5 separate regions of the Homo sapiens genome follow, and all the other regions are linked to region 1. The links are contacts of gene promoters, found by promoter capture Hi-C in blood cells and fetal thymus (Javierre and others, 2016). All regions are on one chromosome and are shown on one strand. The core of a region is centred on a gene start or on the middle of the fragment in contact, and the rest is flanking DNA. Distances in the headings are between cores, read along the strand shown.

Region 1 (3,822 bases), core at 714-3,213:
AAATTCAGCAAGAAGCCTCTCCTTGAAAAATATTGGCAAATTCTCAGCTTATAAACAATGGACATTTTGATTGCCATGTTTATCTCGATAAATACTGTACAAAAGTTGCTTGCAAATATTAAAACATTTTTTTCGTCGCTTGGAGACTAGCTCTAAATATTATTGGTAAAGACTTTTGCAAACTTCCTGCAAAGCTCCTACCGTACCACTAGAACTTTTAAAAAGTTTTTCGTAGCTTTCTTTCCTCCAGATCTATACAAGGTCCATTCCCCCGCCCTCCCCACCCTCCCCAGGTTTTCTCTGTACAAAAATAGTCCCCCAAAAAGAAGTCCAGGATCTCTCTCATAAAAGTTTTCTTGTCGGCATCGCGGTTTTTGCGTGAGTGTGGATGGGATTGGTGTTCTCTTTTGCAGCTGTCATTTGCTGTGGGTGATGGGATTTTTTTTTTTCCTTTTTCTTTTTGAGCGTACCGGGTTTTCTCCATGCTGTTTCTTACTCTCCTCTTTTGCACCCCTCCCATTTCCCTCGTTTTTCTTTGAAAATTTCTCCCCCCTCCAGTTCGCTGTCCGGCCCTCACATGTGTGAGAGGGGCAGTGTGCCGTTAATGGCCGTGCCGGGCACCGGGCCGCTCTGGTAGTGCTGGGACATGTGAAGTCTGCTGGGGGCGGCGGGTTCCGGCACCTCGGCGCCGGGGAGATACATGCTGATCATGTCCCGGAGGTCCCCGGCCTGGCAGGGCGCCCTGGAGTGGGAGGAAGAGGTAACCACAGGGGGGCTGGAGCTGGCCTCGGACTTGACCACCGAACCCATGGAGCCAAGAGCCATGCCAGGGGTGCCCTGCTGCGAGTAGGACATGCTGTAGGTGGGCGAGCCGTTCATGTAGGTCTGCGAGCTGGTCATGGAGTTGTACTGCAGGGCGCTCACGTCGTAGCGGTGCATGGGCTGCATCTGCGCTGCGCCGTGCGCATTGAGGCCCGGGTGCTGCGGGTAGCCCAGCTGGTCCTGCATCATGCTGTAGCTGCCGTTGCTCCAGCCGTTCATGTGCGCGTAACTGTCCATGCGCTGGTTCACGCCCGCGCCCAGGCCGGCGCCCACCCCGACCCCGCTCGCCATGCTATTGCCGCCGGGGGCCAGCAGCCCGCCGGGCAGCGTGTACTTATCCTTCTTCATGAGCGTCTTGGTTTTCCGCCGGGGCCGGTATTTATAATCCGGGTGCTCCTTCATGTGCAGCGCTCGCAGCCGCTTAGCCTCGTCGATGAACGGCCGCTTCTCCGTCTCCGACAAAAGTTTCCACTCGGCGCCCAGGCGCTTGCTGATCTCCGAGTTGTGCATCTTGGGGTTCTCCTGGGCCATCTTGCGCCGCTGCCCGCGGGACCACACCATGAAGGCATTCATGGGCCGCTTGACGCGGTCCGGGCTGTTTTTCTGGTTGCCGCCGGCCGCCGCCGCGGTGGAGTTGCCGCCGCCGCCCCCCGAAGTTTGCTGCGGGCCCGGCGGCTTCAGCTCCGTCTCCATCATGTTGTACATGCGGGCGCTGTGCGCGGGCCCGGCCCGCCGGCGGCCGCCGACCCTCGGCCCGGCCGGGACTTTGGGGGGCCCGCGGGCGGGGGGAGAGGAGGAGGGGAGGCGGGCGGGGGTGTCGGGAGCGCAGGGCTCCGCGAGGAAAATCAGGCGAAGAATAATTTGGGGGAAAAAAAGAGAGAGGCAAACTGGAATCAGGATCAAAAAAAGCGCTTCCCTCCTCCTCTGGCCGATCCTGCCGCCGCCGATGATTGTTATTATTATTTTTTGGAAAGGCTTAAGCCTGGGGCTCAAACTTCTCTCCCTTTCTTTCTCTCTCCTCTTCTTTCTCTCAGTCCTAGTCTTAAAGAGGCAGCAAACTACTTTCCCCCTTTTGCAAACACTCTCTTCTCTGCCTTGACAACTCCTGATACTTTTTTGAACAAGTTAATAGACAACCATCCATGTGACGGGGGCTGTCAGGGAATAAATGGGTTTCTAGCGACCAATCAGCGCGCGGCGGCTCCTCCACTCGAGCCCAGCCTCGCTGCCGGGTTTTGCATGAAAGGGGGCGGGGCCTCCCGCGCCGCCGGCCGCGCGGGGGAGGCCGGGGGAGGAGGGGGCAGGCGAGGAGGGGGAGGAGGCTCCCAGAGCCAGCCTGCCAGCCACTGAGAAACCTTTGTATCCCCTCTCGCAGCAACAGGTCACACCACACGCCTTTTCGAAGGAAGTGGGTAAACAGCACTAAGACTACGTGGGTTTTTTTTTCTTTAAACTTAATATTGATTTACTTTTTGGTGCAGGGTACTTAAATGAGGATGGGACGCGGGAAGCAGCTAAGGTGCGGGGGTGGGGCAGGGCACAGTGGGTGGCTCAGGGCGGCTGTCCAACTCGTATTTCTGGAAACAGCCAGTGCAGGAGTTGGTGTGTCATTGTTCTCCCGCTCATCCACAGCACTCCCCCCCAACTCCAGCCCCTCTGGTGCCGCTCCCGTACTGCGCTCTTCCGCTCTCCTCTCTTACCTTACAGGTGCCAACACTCTCTCACGCCCTTCTCACAGTCCCGACTAGAAGTTAGGAGACCCAAACCTCTGTCCTCAAAACCTTCCTTGCTTCCACGTAACTTGCTCTGTTCTTAAAAATAAATCCTGCTCGGACCATAAGGCAGACTCTAGAGCTGAGAACCAGCAGGCCTTGGTAAGCTGCCATCTCCCTGTCCAACTCAGCTCTTTGGCCCAGGAAACTGCAGCTCTTCCTCTTAGCCCCAGCCACATCTCCCACTAGACTGTCTTCATTCAACCGTAGCAAAGGGGATGCTTCTACTGTCTGCCCCCACTCCCCATTCCCATCCCATGCCTCCCCGTAAGAAGGGTTTCGGTCGTGCGGCTTTCAAATGGGGGCTGGGGAAAGACACAGACGGAAGGGCGCTCAAAAGTGCAGGCGATGGGGGAGGGTGATTTCAACTTCCTGGCATCCCACGGCACTGTATGGAGGTGGCTTTTGGGCCGCAGTCACAAACTCCCTCCCACGCAGAGTTCCCAGGACTCCAGCAGAACCAGCCCTGGCATTTTCCCCGTAGATTTCCATTGTGGTGGCCGCAAAGCCCAGGCCGCGCAAGGCTGGGGCTGCGCCGCAAAGGGGCTCAAGGCCTGGGAGGCGGGGTCGATGCTCTCCAGGCACAGGTGCAGGCAGCGCACACTGGGAGAAGGCGGCCGGGACTGGGGAAGGGGGAGCCCAGCAAGGCCCGGGTTAGAGGAGGATGAGATGGGGGCGGGGGTAGGGGCTCAGGAATCTTGCCCGCCCAGGACCCAAGAGGGTAATTTTAGCCGCTCTCCCATTGTCCCGACGTAAAGATTTCAATAGGTAGGCGCTCAATGCGGAGGGCAATGGCAGCACGTCCGTTACAAATAGGTAGTTTTGTTTCTCTTGTTGTCGCTACACGGAGTCAAACAAAGCCTCGTCTAAGTTTCCTTCCACTCTCTTGTTGGGATCTTTGTGGCTAAAATGCACTTGACTACAAAGGGTGGGGTGGGGGGGAATAAAGAAAAAAAAACCTGATGCCATTTCTTTTTTATAAAGGGCTTAAACCATCAGGGTTACTTATTTTCTTTCTTCTGTAACACTCTCTCCGCCCCCTCCTCCCCTGGTCTACCCTTACTCACCCTAAGAAAATGTACTGAATAGTATCTACCAGCCACGTTCCATTTATTATCTTTACAAAACGGTGCATTGTTTTGTTCCTTACTAACCTTCTTCCCATAATCACTCCCCCGACCCCCAATTTCTCCAATCTCTGCCCTCCCTAGCCTGTTACTGTCAAACT
Region 2 (3,993 bases), core at 362-2,861, 930 kb before region 1:
GGTCTAATAGAAGTATACCTGTTTTGTTCTTAAAAAAGAAAAATTGATATTTGAGTAGAGGTTTGAGAAAAATGGGACCATGTAGGTTTCTGGGAATAGCAAACGCAAAGGCCCTGAACTAAGAATGTGCTTGAAGCTTTTCAAGAACAGCAAGGTGAGGAAGAGGCAAGGATGCTGGAGAGGGAAGAGTGGCCAGGCCCATCAGTTCACCTGGGACATTCTAGACTTTGGTAAGAACTTTGGAACTGAGATTGTCAGAGATGTGTGGAGTCTTTTGGGATCTTTTTTTTTTTTTTTTAAAAAAACTAAATATGAATAAATCTTATTCTGGAAGTTATTTTGTACTGAAATGATAACACTGAAAGTTTTTTGTTGTTTATGAAAATGGGCTATCAAAAGCTAAAGTTGATTACATAAATATAAAGAGAATTACATTTCTGCATGAATTTTAAAAATGAAACTTTTTATTTTGGAACAATTTAGATTTACAGAAAAGTTATAAAGATAGTCCGGAAAGTTGCTGTATATCCCTTATATAGTTTCCCCTGTTATTAAGATCATACATTACCGCGGTTCATTTGTTAAAACTAGAATATTGACATTGGCTTATTACTGTTAATAAACGTCAGGTTTTATTTGGATTTGCTAGTTTTTCCATCAGTGTCCTCTTTCTGTTCCAGGATTCAATATATGGTACCACATTGCACTTAGTTGCCATGCCTCCTCAGTCTTCTCTGGTCTTTGGCAGTCTTCTTGTTTTCATGACCTTGACTGTCTTGAGGAATAGCAGTCAGGTACCCCATAGAATCTTCCCAATCTGGGTTTGTCTTTTGTTTTTCTTATGATTGGACTAGGGCAATGAGTCATCAGAAAGAATACAGAAGTGAGTGCCCTTCTTATCACATCATATCAACAGGTACCTGCATCCATATGATGTCTCTAGTGAGGTTAACTTTCATCACTTGGTTGAGGTAGGTTTTCCAGATTTCTCCACCATGAAGTTACTATTTTCACCTTTTCCTACTCTATTCTTTGGAATCAAGCTCACTCTTAAGGAAAGGATGGTGAGACTTAAGCTACTTCGGAGTGTTTTAAGGGGAAGAGTAACATAATCCTATTTATGCTCTTAAAAGGGAAGGGCCACTCTATGTTGAGAGCAGACTATAGGGATAAGAGCAGAAGCAGGGAGACTGGGCAATGTCCAGGTGAGACATGGTGGCTTGGATTGGGGTGACAGTCATGGAAATGATGAGAAGTGGCTGAGATTTGCGTATGCTTGGGAGATAGAGCCTATGGGTTTTATATTGCTGTTCCACCTTCACTACCATGAGGGCAATGGCCATTAGTAATGATGGACATTATCTTGTTTTACTAATCACAGTGTCACTTTCTGGAAGGACAGTGCTCTTCTTCTATTGTTGTTGGATGTTATAAAGATTGTTGATTGATTTGTTTGCATTTTCAAAGTAAGCCTTACTCATTACTGGAGCCAAGTTACAAATGTCTCTGATTTTAGAGATAAGTATTAGCATAAAAATTTAGATAATCCAGCTTAGGGAAGCCAATTTCTTCAGAACCTCCTATGGACGAGGCCCCTTTTTAGATGTTTTATGTTTGTTGTGAGTGTATTTATATTTTTGTAAGTATATTTATATTTTTGTAAGTATATTTATATTTCCTGTGAATTTCAAAGCCCACAAAAAAGCAAGAATGTAGCTCTCCCTGTTTTTCTGTAAGTGAACTTAAATTTTATCATAAACCAACTTTTTTATGATATAAAAAATTTAGTCCCATTATATCTATGTCAACTCTGTTCCTTTGACGATCACATTAGTCATTTCATATTTACACCTATGTAACTGTGGGCTTTCCCTCTTCTTCCTTTTCTCCTTCCTGATACTGATCTTGAAAACTGCAGAGATTTGTGAATATGCCACTTTGGATTTGGAGGAGAGCACGGCGTGCCCTTCTCAATTTTGACTGGTTGAGATCTCATTCTATCTCCCATGAGATGTAGCTGGTCGGTTTGGTCTTTGGGCATGTCCTCCACAGCAGCAATCTCCTAAGAAATAATTGCATTCTTTTTAGCTATCCCAAGGGATGATGCATGCAGTATGTATCCTTCCTGCAGCACCCCCTTATTCTGGCTTGACACTCTACAAGTCTACCAGCAGACCCTCTCAGAACAAGTGAGATTCAAGTCCTCTTTCTTTAGGGAGTCTGGAACTTACACAGATGTTCTATCTCCCTCCTCCCGCACCAGCTCTTCTTAATGGGAGTTGGCCCCAAAGGGCAGGAGCTGGGCTTCCAAACCAGCATGTAACTTATTGGTTTCACTCTCTCAGCTTGTAGAAGGTTCTTGTTCCTAAAGAGCTTGGAGGCAGAGGTGGGAAATCCTCTGCAGAAAGAAGGAATCACTTAGTTTTTCCAAATCTATGGTTTATTAAAAACTGGGCCTTTGGGCCGGGTGCGGTGGCTCATGCCTGTAATCCCAGCACTTTGGGAGGCTGAGGTGGGTGGATCATGAGGTCAGGAGATTGAGACCATCCTGGCTAACACGGTGAAACCCTGTCTCTACTAAAAATACAAAAAAAAAAAAAAAAAAAAATAGCTGGGCGTGGCGGCAGGCACCTATAGTCCCAGCTACTCGGGAGGCTGAGGCAGGAGAATGGTGTGAACCCGGGAGGCAGGGCTTGCAGAAAGCCGAGATCGCGCCACTGCACTCCAGAGCCTGGGCAATAGAGTGAGACTCCGACTCAAAAAAAAAAAAAAAAAAAAAAAAAAACAACCCCAAAACTGGGCCTTTGGAAACAAGAGAAAACCAAGAATTATTTTGTTTCTCACTGTATAAAGCAGTGAGAATTGGAGGCTGCAGTAGAGGTTGGGGTATAGGAGCTTTTGAAGAGTTGGGAAGAAGAGTGCAGGAGTGGAAAACAGACTAGCAGAGCAATGCATGAGCTAACACTCATAACACCAACAATCACGTGACTGTTTCACATACCTTTATATTAGTTCTGTTGTACCTTCTTATCATCATTTGGTAAATGAGAAAGTTAAGAGAAGTTACAAAAAATTATCCAAGCTTATATAGAGAGCATGCATTGGTGGAGCCAGGAATCAAAACCAGAGCTGTTCTAACATCAAAGCCTCTGTTTTGTCCACTACAGCTCATAATCCAACTCATCTACTCACATTTTCCTTGCGCGTGCATGACTCAAAGTCTTCCAGGGAGAGAAATGACTGGCCTGGGCGGTGGTTAAGCAGAATGGAGGGCACCTCCTTGGTCAGTAGGTGTCTAACATCTCCCTTTCTCTTTTTGAATTTCAGCCTTTAACCCATAATGATTGAGTGCTTATGCTGTGGTGCAGGAATACAATGGTGAACAAGCCGGTTCTTGCCCTTAAGGAAGTTAGAGCCAGGGAGAGGAGAGAGACAAGTGAAAAGATACTTAAAATTCAGCATAGTGAAGCACCACTAACAAAGTGAAACAGATGGCTTTGAGAGACCCAGAAAGAGCCCCTAACTCTGCCCTGGGGGATCCACAAAGCCTTCCTGGAACAGACAGGGTTCAAAGGACAGAGCTATATCAGTGTCTGTGGGATACAGGGTGATGGAGGAGGGAGTGTGAGAGCCCATTACAAACCTCCTTTTTGTGAGTAGTGTTCTCCTCCTACTCCTTCAAAGCAGAGTGAACTGAGCTCCAGTTGAGTCAGGGACAGGGGGAGGCCATCTCTTCCTGGGTCCACCCTCTAAGATAATGGAGAACTTGTCAATAACCAAAGGCTGGCTGTCCCTATCCATCCCCCAAACAGGCACTGAATGCTCTGCAGCCAAAGCTACTACTACCGCTTATTGATTGCTTCTGAATAGGCTTCCAGTGCTGCATGTTCAGCCTGCTCACCTTCTAGCCCGTGGAGCTCTTTTCACTGGCTCTGCCTTCCCTCTGGCCTGAATTAGGCAGCATTTGTGAGGTAAACACCACCAGGGCAATCA
Region 3 (3,439 bases), core at 123-2,622, 960 kb before region 1:
CCTTATGACCCACTCTACTCTTTTATCCCAATTCCAACCCAATAAAGAATGAAGTGAGAGGGAGAAAATTCCACAAAGGGTGACGATACAACATCAGAAGATATTCCCTGGGATACTCTTTTACCATCAAAAACTCTCCATGATGAATATTTTATTGTATTTGGATTCCTAAAAACACACACAGACATTGAAGAAGAAGGGTATTTTAAAGTTGGAAATGGTGGCATCTTCTGAGATTTCCCACTAGAACTCATTGTGCACATTATAAATATTTAATGTGAATTCTCCTCTCCCACCCCCAGTCTGCCTGGACCTGCTTTGGACACATTCTCTAGAAAGGGAGCTTGGTGGTCACAATCCCTTCTGTATTGCTCACTCTCCTGGCCCCCCAAATCTTTGGACAGCCTTCCTGTTTTCTATTTGATTTAGGAAGAGCATTCTGGTCCCCGGTCCCCATCTGTTCTCCAGGTGGCTCTTTGGATGTTGTTGTTCTCTGTTTTCTGTCCACTGCCTGGGCATCTTGCCCACTTAGTTCTCTTGGTCCTCGTGCTCCTCCTGGTGTCGCCTGGTCAGTTAGCTTCATCTACAATTGCATATGTAACTTCTAGGCTGCACACGGCATGCACTGAAGTATTTCTTCATCTGAAACCACAGAAATAGCAGATGAAGATATTCATAGAATGGATGAGAGAAAAAAATGCAGAGATTGTGGGCGACAGGGAGGGAGTGGGAGCAAGGCAGATTCTACTAGCTGAGGAGGCAGAGGAGGGAAGGACATAAAGAATAGAATAAGAAGTGATTTGTCCTTATCACACTTTTATCTTTCTGTGGATCATTATCAGATATTACAGTCATTTGCTTTCCTACAGCAATCTCCCATTAGACACTCGCTCATTTCTTGACATAGTTTCCTGAGTCTGTGCTCTAACTCACCCTCCACAGGAGATGGAGGAGCCTTGTCTCATTTCTCTCACTTACCCTTTATTCAGCCAGGCTTCCCTGCTCCTTCTACCCCTCCCCCCACCAAATAGCACAAGGCATAAATACTTTCTTCAAGGCTCTTCCCTGCTTACATCCAAAATGAGATCGACTTTTTATAGACATGAATGAACTCAGCTTTTAGCCAAATATGAAATAAAAAATCAAGAAATGCATCTAAATAAAGCAGAATTTCTACTTATACATTTGAATAAATATATCCAAGTTCTTTCAGGGCCACAGATATAGTGAATAGATACTTAGATCTATCTAAGTACTAAGTAAGTATCTAGAACAGATGCTTATGAATAGAGATGAAAGTAGACGTACAGAATTTAAATTTGTCAACATATGTGGCCAGTGAAATGGTCCCAAGTATAACTCTGACCACGTGTTTTTTTGTTTTTTTTTTTGCAAAGGAAAGTGATAGTAAAGGCATAAGATGTAGGATGTTAGTGCAGCTTGGGGGCTGGGATCTAAGGTTAACTGGCTTGAGCTGAGGCTGACTGGGGAAGGGCAGCTGCCCTACAGCCACGTAAAGGCCCCAGGAACTTCCTTCAAAATCTGAATTTTTGCCCTTAGCCCATTTTGGTCTATGTGCTCAGGTTCAGGGCTTCCAATTGTTTTCTTATCGCCAATTTTGTGTTTTTCTGACCTTGATCTGACAACTTAACTCTATCCTACAGACTTTGTCTGCTTCATTGTAAATATTAGTTCAAGGATAAACAGGAAAGTCTTATAAGTCTCCAAACAGAAAGGACAAGTTACTTAAAAAAGTGAAAAGAGGTAGCGTGTCGTTCTTCTTTTCATTTGAAACATGGAAGCCGGAAGGCAATGACATATAGCCTCTACAGAAAACTGAGATGAAATCATCGTAATCTAATTTATCTGAGAGAAAAAGGCAAGAAACCAGTGAAACTTTGCTCCAAATAGTGGATTCAAGCCACCGTGATCTCTCACCTGGACATTCAGATCACAATGGTCCCATCACAACACTTCCGTGCTCAAGACCCCTTAGAGGTTCCCATCTCTCCTTTTCTCTCTCTCTCTGTCCTTTCCTTCCTTCCTTCCTTCCTTCCTTCCTTCCTTCCTTCCTTCCTTCCTTCCTTCCTTCCTTCCTTCCTTCCTTCTTTCCCTCCCTCCCTCCTTCCCTCCCTCCTTCCTTCCTTCCTACCTTCCTTCCTTCCTTTTTCCTTCCTCTTTCTTTCTTTCTTTCTTTTTTTTGAGACAGTTTCGCTCTTGTCACCCAGGCTGGAATGCAATGGCACAATCTCGGCTCACTACAACCTCCGCCTCCTGGACTCAAGTGATTCTCCTGCCTCAGCCTTCTGAGTAGCTGGGACTACAGGCGCACGCCACCACGCCCAGCTAATTTTTGTATTTTTAGTAGAGATGAGGTTTTACCATGTTGGGCAGGACAGTCTCGATGTCTAGACCTTGTGATCCACCTGCCTCAGCCTCCCAAAGTGCTGGGATTACAGGTATAAGCCACCGCACCTGGCATCTCCTTTCCTTTTGAACAGTCTCTGATCCTTCTCCCCTTGCTCACACCCGCCAGTCACAACACCTGCCTTGCATCTGGCCTAGAACACACTTTGCCCAACTCCACATGGCTCCCTCCCTTCCTCAGGTCTTTGTTCAGGTATTATCTTATCAAGGAGGCCTTCTCTAACCCCCTACATTTTAATAAAATGGCAACTCTCTTCTGGGTCATTCTCTATCTGCCTTATTCACTTTATTTCCTATAAGTTATAGCACTTATCTGCTTACCTGTGTTTGTTTATTGTATCTCTTTTTCCCACTAGAATATGGGCACTGTAAGAATGGAGGACTTGTTTGTTCACTGCTGTCACTGAGAACAGACCCTTAGTAAGCTCTCATCATTTTTTGAAAGAAGGGAAAGGGTCCTATACCCAGCTAAGATATTCTTTTGTCATGAAGAATTAAAAAAAAATACATTGATATGCAGGAACTGAGAGAGTAGTTTGCCCACAAACCCCATTTAGATTTGTGAGAAAACCTTGGAATCATCTAGAATGCTTGTTAAAAAAGAATAGATTCTCAGATTCCAACCCACATCAACAGAGTCAGAATTTCCAGGGGAAAGTCTTGGAATCTGAATATTTCAAACTATTATATTGAATATTTCCAAAGGCCTCTTTCAATTCCTTTCATAAGGCAAACTTGGAAAACTGTAAGTCTAATCTTACAACAAATGAATCTGAATAGACTTTCAGTAGCAATAATTGTAGTATATGTATGTGTCTGATTGCATATAATATATTGTCTATCAATCAAGCAAGAATTTAACAGGAAATTTGCAATATATAAATCTTATGTAAGGATTCTTGAAGTAAAACAGATTTTTGTTATCTGACCCATTATTTAAATTGCTCATTTTTCATTACAGTTTCAATTACAGTTAGTCCAGTTGTGTTTCAGTACTAAGTTCCTTTTATCA
Region 4 (3,704 bases), core at 345-2,844, 520 kb before region 1:
GCCCCTTAATACAGCTGAACTCTCAGGCCTCCCCGGGATGCGGGATTCTGAGCAGTGCCGGAGTTGGGGTTGCTATTTTGTTTGTCCCCATGAGCCCCACCTCGGCGTGCCGATGCACTGATGTAAGAATTCCAAATGAGCTTGCTCAGAAGGGCCCAGATTAGCTGGGTTGCTAGGATCTGGCCATTCCAACCCCCTTTTCCACTTCAGTGGACTGAGCTTTTGACACTATGAAAAGCACCATTTAAAATTAATTAAAGCTTCTTATTTGGTACCAAATCTCATCACTGCTGACTACATTTAATATGTTTTATGTGTGGCTTTAAGTCCCTGTCGCATCATGTGTTGTATGATCCTGCAATGAAGCAGCTGCAAGTTAGAAAACACAGAAGCAACCTGAATTTAGCTCTTTGGTATTTTATCTGGTGTGTGTGTGTGTGTGTGTGTGTGTGTGTGTGTGTGTGTGTGTGTGTTAAACTGCAGAGCTAGTCTTCTAGTCTCCTGGGTCATGCAAATTTTGTTAAATGATAGAATGGCATTCTATCTGGAATTGAAGGCAAGAGACCTGAGTTCTAGGCCTGCTCAGTCACCAATTTGTTATTAGGGTGATGAGAAAGACATAGTTCCTTTTTAAAACTTCAATTTTCTCATATGTACAAGAAAGAGGCTGGACTGCAGTCTCAGAGGTTGCTTTCAGCTTGACTATTTTAGGATTCAGAGTACAGAAGGCAAAGTTGTGTTGTAGATTAGTCCAACAGGTTTTGGGGTAAAAGAGATCTGGGTTTAAATCTCAGCTTAACAACTGACTCTGTAGCACTGAGCAAGTGATGATCTCTCTAAGCCTTGTTTTCACCATCTGTAGAGTGGGGTCAATAATAGTACTCTCTCATAGAGACTGTTGTGAAGTATAATGAGATAATGCATGCCAGTGCTTAGAACAGTGCTTTGTGCATAGTAAGCCCTCAATAAATGGGAACTGGTATCATTATAACAACAGATTACTTATTACAATTGCATTTAGACTCAATATCATTATTGAACAGTCCTGTGGGTTCTCAACTCCTAAACATTTGCTATAAGCAATGTCTTCAAATTAAGGATATTTTATCACTTACATGGGCCACAAATTATTTTTCCAGTCTATTAGTGTCAAATGACTTATTAATAACCCTCTCCAAAAGCCAGAGACCCACTTGTCCATCTCATTATTGTTCTTTCAAAAGACTAATTGTGTCAGTTATGTTAAATGATAATAGTAATAATAATAAACACTCATTGAGGTAGAAGGAAGTCTTGTAGGCAGACAAAAAGGAAGTAAAATTACCAAAACCTTGAAAAAATTTTCTCGGTATCCTGCTTGACTAAACCCAGTCTGAGGTTTTATCTGCCTCTAGGAGCTGTGATTTTTTAATGGTGCCTTTTATTTATTTATATATATATTTATTTATTTATTTTTAGTGTGCTATGAAAATGTTTGTTCTAGTTTTGTTTTCCATGAACTTTTTTAAATTTTACTTTAAGTATACCTATGTATGGTGCCATTTTTAACAGCAGTCTGCAAAACTGCAACAGCAGTTTGCATGTTGCGTGTCTATTTGGACTAGAGAATTTTCCCCCAGTCCTGTTTGCATTTTGGTTTTAACAGGAGGGAAAAAATAAAGTCTGAGAAGGAATGATTATCCTGAATTGCATTTTAGGAGAATTTTGTCTATGTGGGAATCAAATTATTTGGTCTTATTGGTGAATCAAATAAGTATATGCTTGTATATAACCAATCTTCATATACAAGTAATCCAGGACTTGGATGTTTCTGGAAGACTTAACAAAACATGCTGTATTTGCTGGCCATGAAAAAACTTTGAACATTGAACAACAAATAGGGTGTTTCTTAAAACACTATTGTATCCTTGTATTTTTATATTTTTATCCTGCTCACACTCTGAAAAAAGAGTTTTAGAGAAGCATCAACATAAAAACTCCACGGTGGGAAAAAAATAGACTGTCACACACAGTGAGTGGTGAGTGGACTTCCATTTACCTGGTGCAGCAGCCGAAAACACAGGCTGGCCACTCTATCAGCACTTTAAGCAAGGTCAGGAATCATCCCATGTTTTAAACAAGTGACTTATTCAAACTGAAAAATTTTCCAGTTACAGTAGTTTGTTGAACTGTCTTGAACGAAAATGCTTTTCAGAGCTTTTCCACCCAACTGAGGCTTTTATTTTTAGGTATCGGTTGGCAAGTTAATCAGAGTTGTGTAAGGTCTCAATTCAAACAATTTTGGAAAGTTAATACATCTGAGTCTCAGTTTCTTTATCTGCATAATGGGAAGGAAAATAATGGTATCTAGCTCATGAGGTTGTTGTGGTGTGATAGTTTATGTAATATATTTGCAGTATCTGCAATATATGCAGTGCCTGTCACAGAGCAGGTCTTCAGTAAATGGTATTTCTCATCCCCATTTTTACAGCAGGGTATCAAAAAGGGTTTAGACATTATTGTGTATTACCACAACTTTGATCAGATCTAAGCCATGCCCACCAATATTACGCGTAGTTGGCCTTAATAGAAAAATCATAACAAAACCCTGAGAAGCATATGATTATCTCAGAAAGCACCAGAATGCTTTTCTCAGTGTAGGAATGCGACAAATACAAGGGGTTTCCTTGGAGGAGCAAATACAACTATTTCCTTGCATAGAACCAGCCTCAACATTTAATAGCCAGCATACAGCTACTTTCAAAAGAAAGCCCTACTGTTCTGGACCTTTTGTTTCCTGGGTATGACTGAGAATCTCTGTGTATGACTGAGATCAACAGCCAGATATCTAGGAGCTACAGATCAATTACTATTTCCCTCTAACGTGGCTGTGTGCAACTTAGCAAAATGCTGGTATGTTTGTGTGGTCCTCTACCTAAGTAAAGCTTAATGAATAAGAGAACCAAATAGAAGTGAGGAGGGGAAAGTTACACAGTTACCAGGTATACTTAAAAGAGAAAATGAATATGAAAATATTTATTCCCTCTGGCAGGCAACAACAGAATATTCATTAAATTTAAATTTCATTTGTGTTGTTTCTTTGTGCCTTTTCCCTCAACTTTAGTCATAAAATATTTTATGAAATTCAACTTGACTGTTAAATGTTTTCCGTAACAAAGATGTGTTGTGTTTTTTAGTGTATTGCTCTAACAATATAATTTATTTGGTAACAGTGGGGGACAATTATGAACATGAGATTTGGAAAAAATTAAAGTGTGTCTCCCAACAGAACATTTTGTTGCTGAATGTTCTATTAACTAATTATTACAAATGAGTGTCCTTCTAGACATATTTGTACAAAAGTCTTAACGTATTACTCATCTAGTATTGTGTAATGCAAAAAAAAAGTACTACTAATTGCTTTTTTCTTTCATTTGGTCATTTAAAACATGTTTTAAACCAGAAAAGAATAATCAAGTTACTTCAGCTCTGGTATCAAGCAAACTGTGAGTAAACGTTTCTGTTTTTGCCCTAAGAATTCATCACATGAAGATGATTAGTGACTATAGATCAATCTTTGCACCAGTAACTATAGAAGGAAGTTTATTTTATTTCTCCTAAGTCTGATAAGGACAAAGTAAACCCAATAATACCTGCTATAGGCTGGTAAGTTATCTCTCAAATAATCTCAACCCAGAGTCAAGATGTCACTAACAAAAAGATCC
Region 5 (3,824 bases), core at 639-3,138, 980 kb before region 1:
TTACTGTTTCTTGAGTGTCCCTATCTTAAAAATACTCACTTAAATTTCCCTCTTCTAACTGTACTCCTTGGATGGAAGTTCCTTATACATAGCCCTTAAGGAGTGGCAAGTTTTGCTCCCCCTCCATTAGGGTGAAGTATCAATATAATACTTTTTCATTAGCGAGAAGGAGCTTTATTTCTTTGTGCAAAGGAGCACTTCAAGTCAAGCTAGCCAGTCGCACTTGGGCGAGTCCTGCTTTCACAGAAACTGGGGGTAGAAGAGGTACTTTCAGTTGTACTCAGTTCGGGCTAAGCAGTTAGCAATCTCCTGGTCACACTTGCACAAGAGCTTTTGGCATTTGTTCTCTGCTGGTCCAGTCAATGGCATCCCGGTGCTGGCCATGGCCTCCCAGGCCACAGTAGCAACTGTATTTCATATAGGTAAGTGGGGTTCAGGAGTCAATACAACCCACAGTTCCTGCCAGTTCCAGGATCCCACGTCGGTGCACGTGTGACCTCTTGGAGGCCTGGCGGGACCCAGGGCCAGATCCCAGCAGCAGCAGCAGCAGTGACAGCAGTGGCAGTAGTATTAATAACATGACTGGCAGGCACAGAGGTAGCAGCCCAGTCCGACAGTGGGAGGTGTGGAACGGTGTAGCCGGGCCAGTGTAGTCACCAAGCCTGGCCGAGCTAGTCACCATATCGGTATAATTTATTTGGAATTCTTTTTTTGTACTGAATATTTGTTTCTTTTCCTGTGTTTATTAACTTACTTAATCATATATTTATATCAGATCTGAGCTCATGGATATGCGTTTTATACTCTGGGCTCTAATCCCAAACTATTTATTTCATTGCTTAAATCCTTCTAGCTTTGGCCATTGGGAGCTTTTTGGTCCTGAGCCCCTTTGAGATACTCTCATTAATTTGTGTGTGTGTGTGTGTGTGTGTGTGTGTGTGTGTGTGAGAGAGGGAGAGAGAGAGAGAGAAGAAGAGAGACAGAGTAAGGGAGAGAGAATGCAGTTTCTTACTTGTAGCACTATAAGACACCCCAGGCTAATCTTGTGTATTTCCTGCCCCAGTCATAGTCACTCATTTCTGCAAGGAGCCCTGGTTCCTTTATTCTGGAGAATGATGTTGGGAACCAAGATCTGGGTGCTAGGTGTGTTCATTGCTATTGAGATGTAGTTTTTTTTTGCAGGCTTCTCACCTGACAGAGCAATGAAATATATGTATGTATACTACCTTGTATATATACACATATTTATAAATATTTCTATGTGTAACCATCTGTTTCCATATTGTTAATTATTAAAGAAGTTTTTACTGATGTTTCTAGTTTGAATCCATTACCACATACATCATTCTACCCCCCTCCTTTTCCTTATCTATAAATTCCTACTTCAACAGTGAGAAAACTGCCTCCTATCATCTGCTATCCATTTACTTAATTGTTCAATTCCTGTATACATGTATAGCAGTATCAGGCAGTACTAGAATTCTTAATCCATACCTCTATGGGGAAAAACTTTATCAACTAGAGTACTTCTGTATTTCCTTTTGCCTTGAGTCTTACAGATGCCATCAATGGCAAAGTGTGTTTTGAAGAGTTTTTAATTTTAATAAAGTCTGACTTGCTAATTTTTTTCATGGATTGTGCTTTTAGTGTTGTATCTAAAAACACACCACTAAACCCAAAGTCACCTCTATTTTATCCTATGTTATCTTCTAGAAGTTTTACAGTTTAGTGTTTTAATGTTTAGGTTTATGATCTGCTTAGAGTCAAATTTTGTGAAAGGTGTAAGATCTGTGTCTAGGATTTTTTTTTTTTTCATATCCCCAGTTGTTCCAGCACCATTTGTTGAAAAGACTGTCCTTTCTCCACTGAATTGCCTCTGCTCATTTTTCAAAGTTCTTGCCTTTTATGTTGATTAAGTATTTTTTATTATTGTAGTCCCCTCTTCCTTGGTTAAGTAATTATATATTATTTTATGACTTTTTAGTGGTTGCCATAGAGATAACAACATGTTACTCAATTTATTAAACATCCATGTAAATTGTCACTTTTGTTATTTCCCAGGCCAGTGGTTCTCAAACTTGAACATGCATCAGAATTGCCTTAAGGGTTTGTTAAAGCACAGATTGCTGGGTTCTGTCATCAGGGTTTCTGATTCAGCAGGCATGGGTTGAGGCATGAGAATTTGCATTTCCAACAATTTCCTAAGTGACACTGGTGATGCAAACGCAGACCTGGAGACTACACTTTGAGAACGGCTGTGTTAATCACAAACACTGAAAAACATTTTCATTCTACTTGTTCTGTTGACTTCTGTGCTATTACTGTCATATCTATATCTCTATCCCCACAAAGCAATATTCTTATTGTTTTATATTGTAAATATTCATTTATATTTACTTCTATATTATTTTCTCTTTTGGTTTTCATTTCTTCTTGCACCTTTGAGCTTCCATCTGGGACTACCGACCATTTACTTCTGCCTGAAGAATGCCCTTTAGCATTTCCCGTAATGCAGGCCTGTTAGTGACAAATTCACCCATACTTTGTAGGTCTGAAACTATCTTTCTTTTGCTTTTACCTTGGAAGGGTATTCTTGGTGAATATGAAACGCTACATTATTGTTATTTTCTTTTAGCACATGTCTTCTGACATTCATGGTTTCTGTTGAGAAGATGGCTGCTTATTTTACTGTTGCTTCTTTGAAGATAGTATCTCTTTTGACTGCTTTAAAAATTTGCTTCTTGTTTTTGGTTTTCAGCTGTTTTATGCTGATGTGCTAGGTTATAGTTTTCTTTGTAGTTATTCTGATTAAAACTTCTCGAATGTGTGGCTTGAAGTCGTCCATCAAATCTGTGTTATTATTTTTTTCCTTTTAGATGGTATTGTTGCCAGAGAATATGGTATTTATGATACTTATCCTTTGAGATGTGTTCAGACTTGCTGTGTGGCTGCGTTTAAGTGGTTGATTTTTGAAAACATTGCTTCTGTGTTGAGAAGAATGTGTATTCTCTAGTTGTTTAGGGGCACAATTCTAAATATGTTAATTATATTAATACCAATCCCTTTTTATGTATATTGTTTAAATATTGTTTATCTATATTAATTTCCTATCTTCTAAGCTGTCAATAATTACTAGAGGTGTGTTAAAATATCCTATAATGATTTTGAGGCAATTTTCTTATATATATATGGGTTTAAAATGTCTATAATCACATAGTGAATTGAAAACTATAATCAGTATATAGTACATTTCTCTATTTCCAGTAATGCTCTTTGTCTTACATTCTTTTTGAGACAGGATCTCACTGTGTCACCCAGGCTGGAGTGGACTGGCGCTATCTCGGCTTGCTGCAGTCTCTGCCTCCCAGGATCAAGTGATCCTCCCACCTCAGGCTCCCGAGTAGCTGGGACTACAGGTATTCGTCACTACACCTGGCTAATTTTTGTGTTTTTTGTGTGTTTTATCTAATATTAATGTAGTGGCCTCTGCATTATTTTGATATTTGTCTAGTATTTCGTCTTCGTATTTTTAACCTTCCCACATTTAAAAAGTATGAATATGATAAACAGTATAGCTATGTTTTCTTTTTTTTAAAACTGGTATTTAATTCTTTTACATTTGGTGTGATTATTGGTATATTGGGACTTGTTTCTATCAATGTAAAATTTCCCCTATTTGTTTCACTCTTGTTTCTTGTCTTGTCTTTAAAAAATTAATTTAGCTTTTTTGGTTAAATTTTTTTCTTAACCAAATGTTTCCCCTTTACTACTTAAACATAATACACTATTTTCTTTTAGTACTATTGAAATCTTATCAAACATGT

What was found. The method cuts DNA at HindIII sites, captures the fragments that hold promoters and counts their contacts. A CHiCAGO score of 5 or more calls a contact.
Region 2: a fragment that was not itself captured here is called in contact with the fragment with the promoter of SOX2 in region 1 in 2 of 17 cell types (M0 macrophages and M2 macrophages); the score reaches 6.4 in M0 macrophages.
Region 3: a contact is called between a fragment that was not itself captured here and the fragment with the promoter of SOX2 in region 1, in 8 of 17 cell types (total B cells, monocytes, M0 macrophages and 5 more). The highest score is 9.1, in total B cells.
Region 4: a contact is called between a fragment that was not itself captured here and the fragment with the promoter of SOX2 in region 1, in 1 of 17 cell types (megakaryocytes). The highest score is 6.7, in megakaryocytes.
Region 5: a fragment that was not itself captured here is called in contact with the fragment with the promoter of SOX2 in region 1 in 8 of 17 cell types (monocytes, fetal thymus, M1 macrophages and 5 more); the score reaches 15.8 in monocytes.

Annotation. Positions count from the first base shown.
Region 1 is chr3:181,710,066-181,713,887 of GRCh38, reverse strand. SOX2 (SRY-box transcription factor 2) reads right to left here and starts at 1,963. Exons shown (of 1, transcript NM_003106.4): 1 at 1-1,963. The coding sequence starts at 1,527. The coding sequence ends at 574. The region is part of intron 6 of SOX2-OT (SOX2 overlapping transcript); the gene reads right to left. RefSeq lists enhancers at 122-973, 974-1,827, 1,828-2,680, 2,681-3,534, a silencer at 2,063-2,122 and a promoter at 1,702-2,735. The HindIII fragment of the contact is 18,528 bases long and covers 1-3,822 here.
Region 2 is chr3:182,644,224-182,648,216 of GRCh38, reverse strand. It overlaps LINC02031 (long intergenic non-protein coding RNA 2031), which reads right to left. Exons shown (of 5, transcript XR_427440.3): 1 at 3,902-3,993; 2 at 3,644-3,749; 3 at 3,193-3,399. Among named protein-coding and RNA genes, the nearest start is that of LINC02031, 2.1 kb to the right of the region's middle. The HindIII fragment of the contact is 2,946 bases long and covers 139-3,084 here.
Region 3 is chr3:182,669,284-182,672,722 of GRCh38, reverse strand. It overlaps LINC02031 (long intergenic non-protein coding RNA 2031), which reads right to left. Exons shown (of 5, transcript XR_427440.3): 5 at 1-642. Among named protein-coding and RNA genes, the nearest start is that of LINC02031, 27 kb to the right of the region's middle. The HindIII fragment of the contact is 5,620 bases long and covers 1-3,439 here.
Region 4 is chr3:182,234,753-182,238,456 of GRCh38, reverse strand. No RefSeq gene overlaps it. Among named protein-coding and RNA genes, the nearest start is that of LINC01994, 250 kb to the left of the region's middle. The HindIII fragment of the contact is 2,664 bases long and covers 263-2,926 here.
Region 5 is chr3:182,688,678-182,692,501 of GRCh38, reverse strand. No RefSeq gene overlaps it. Among named protein-coding and RNA genes, the nearest start is that of LINC02031, 46 kb to the right of the region's middle. The HindIII fragment of the contact is 9,217 bases long and covers 1-3,824 here.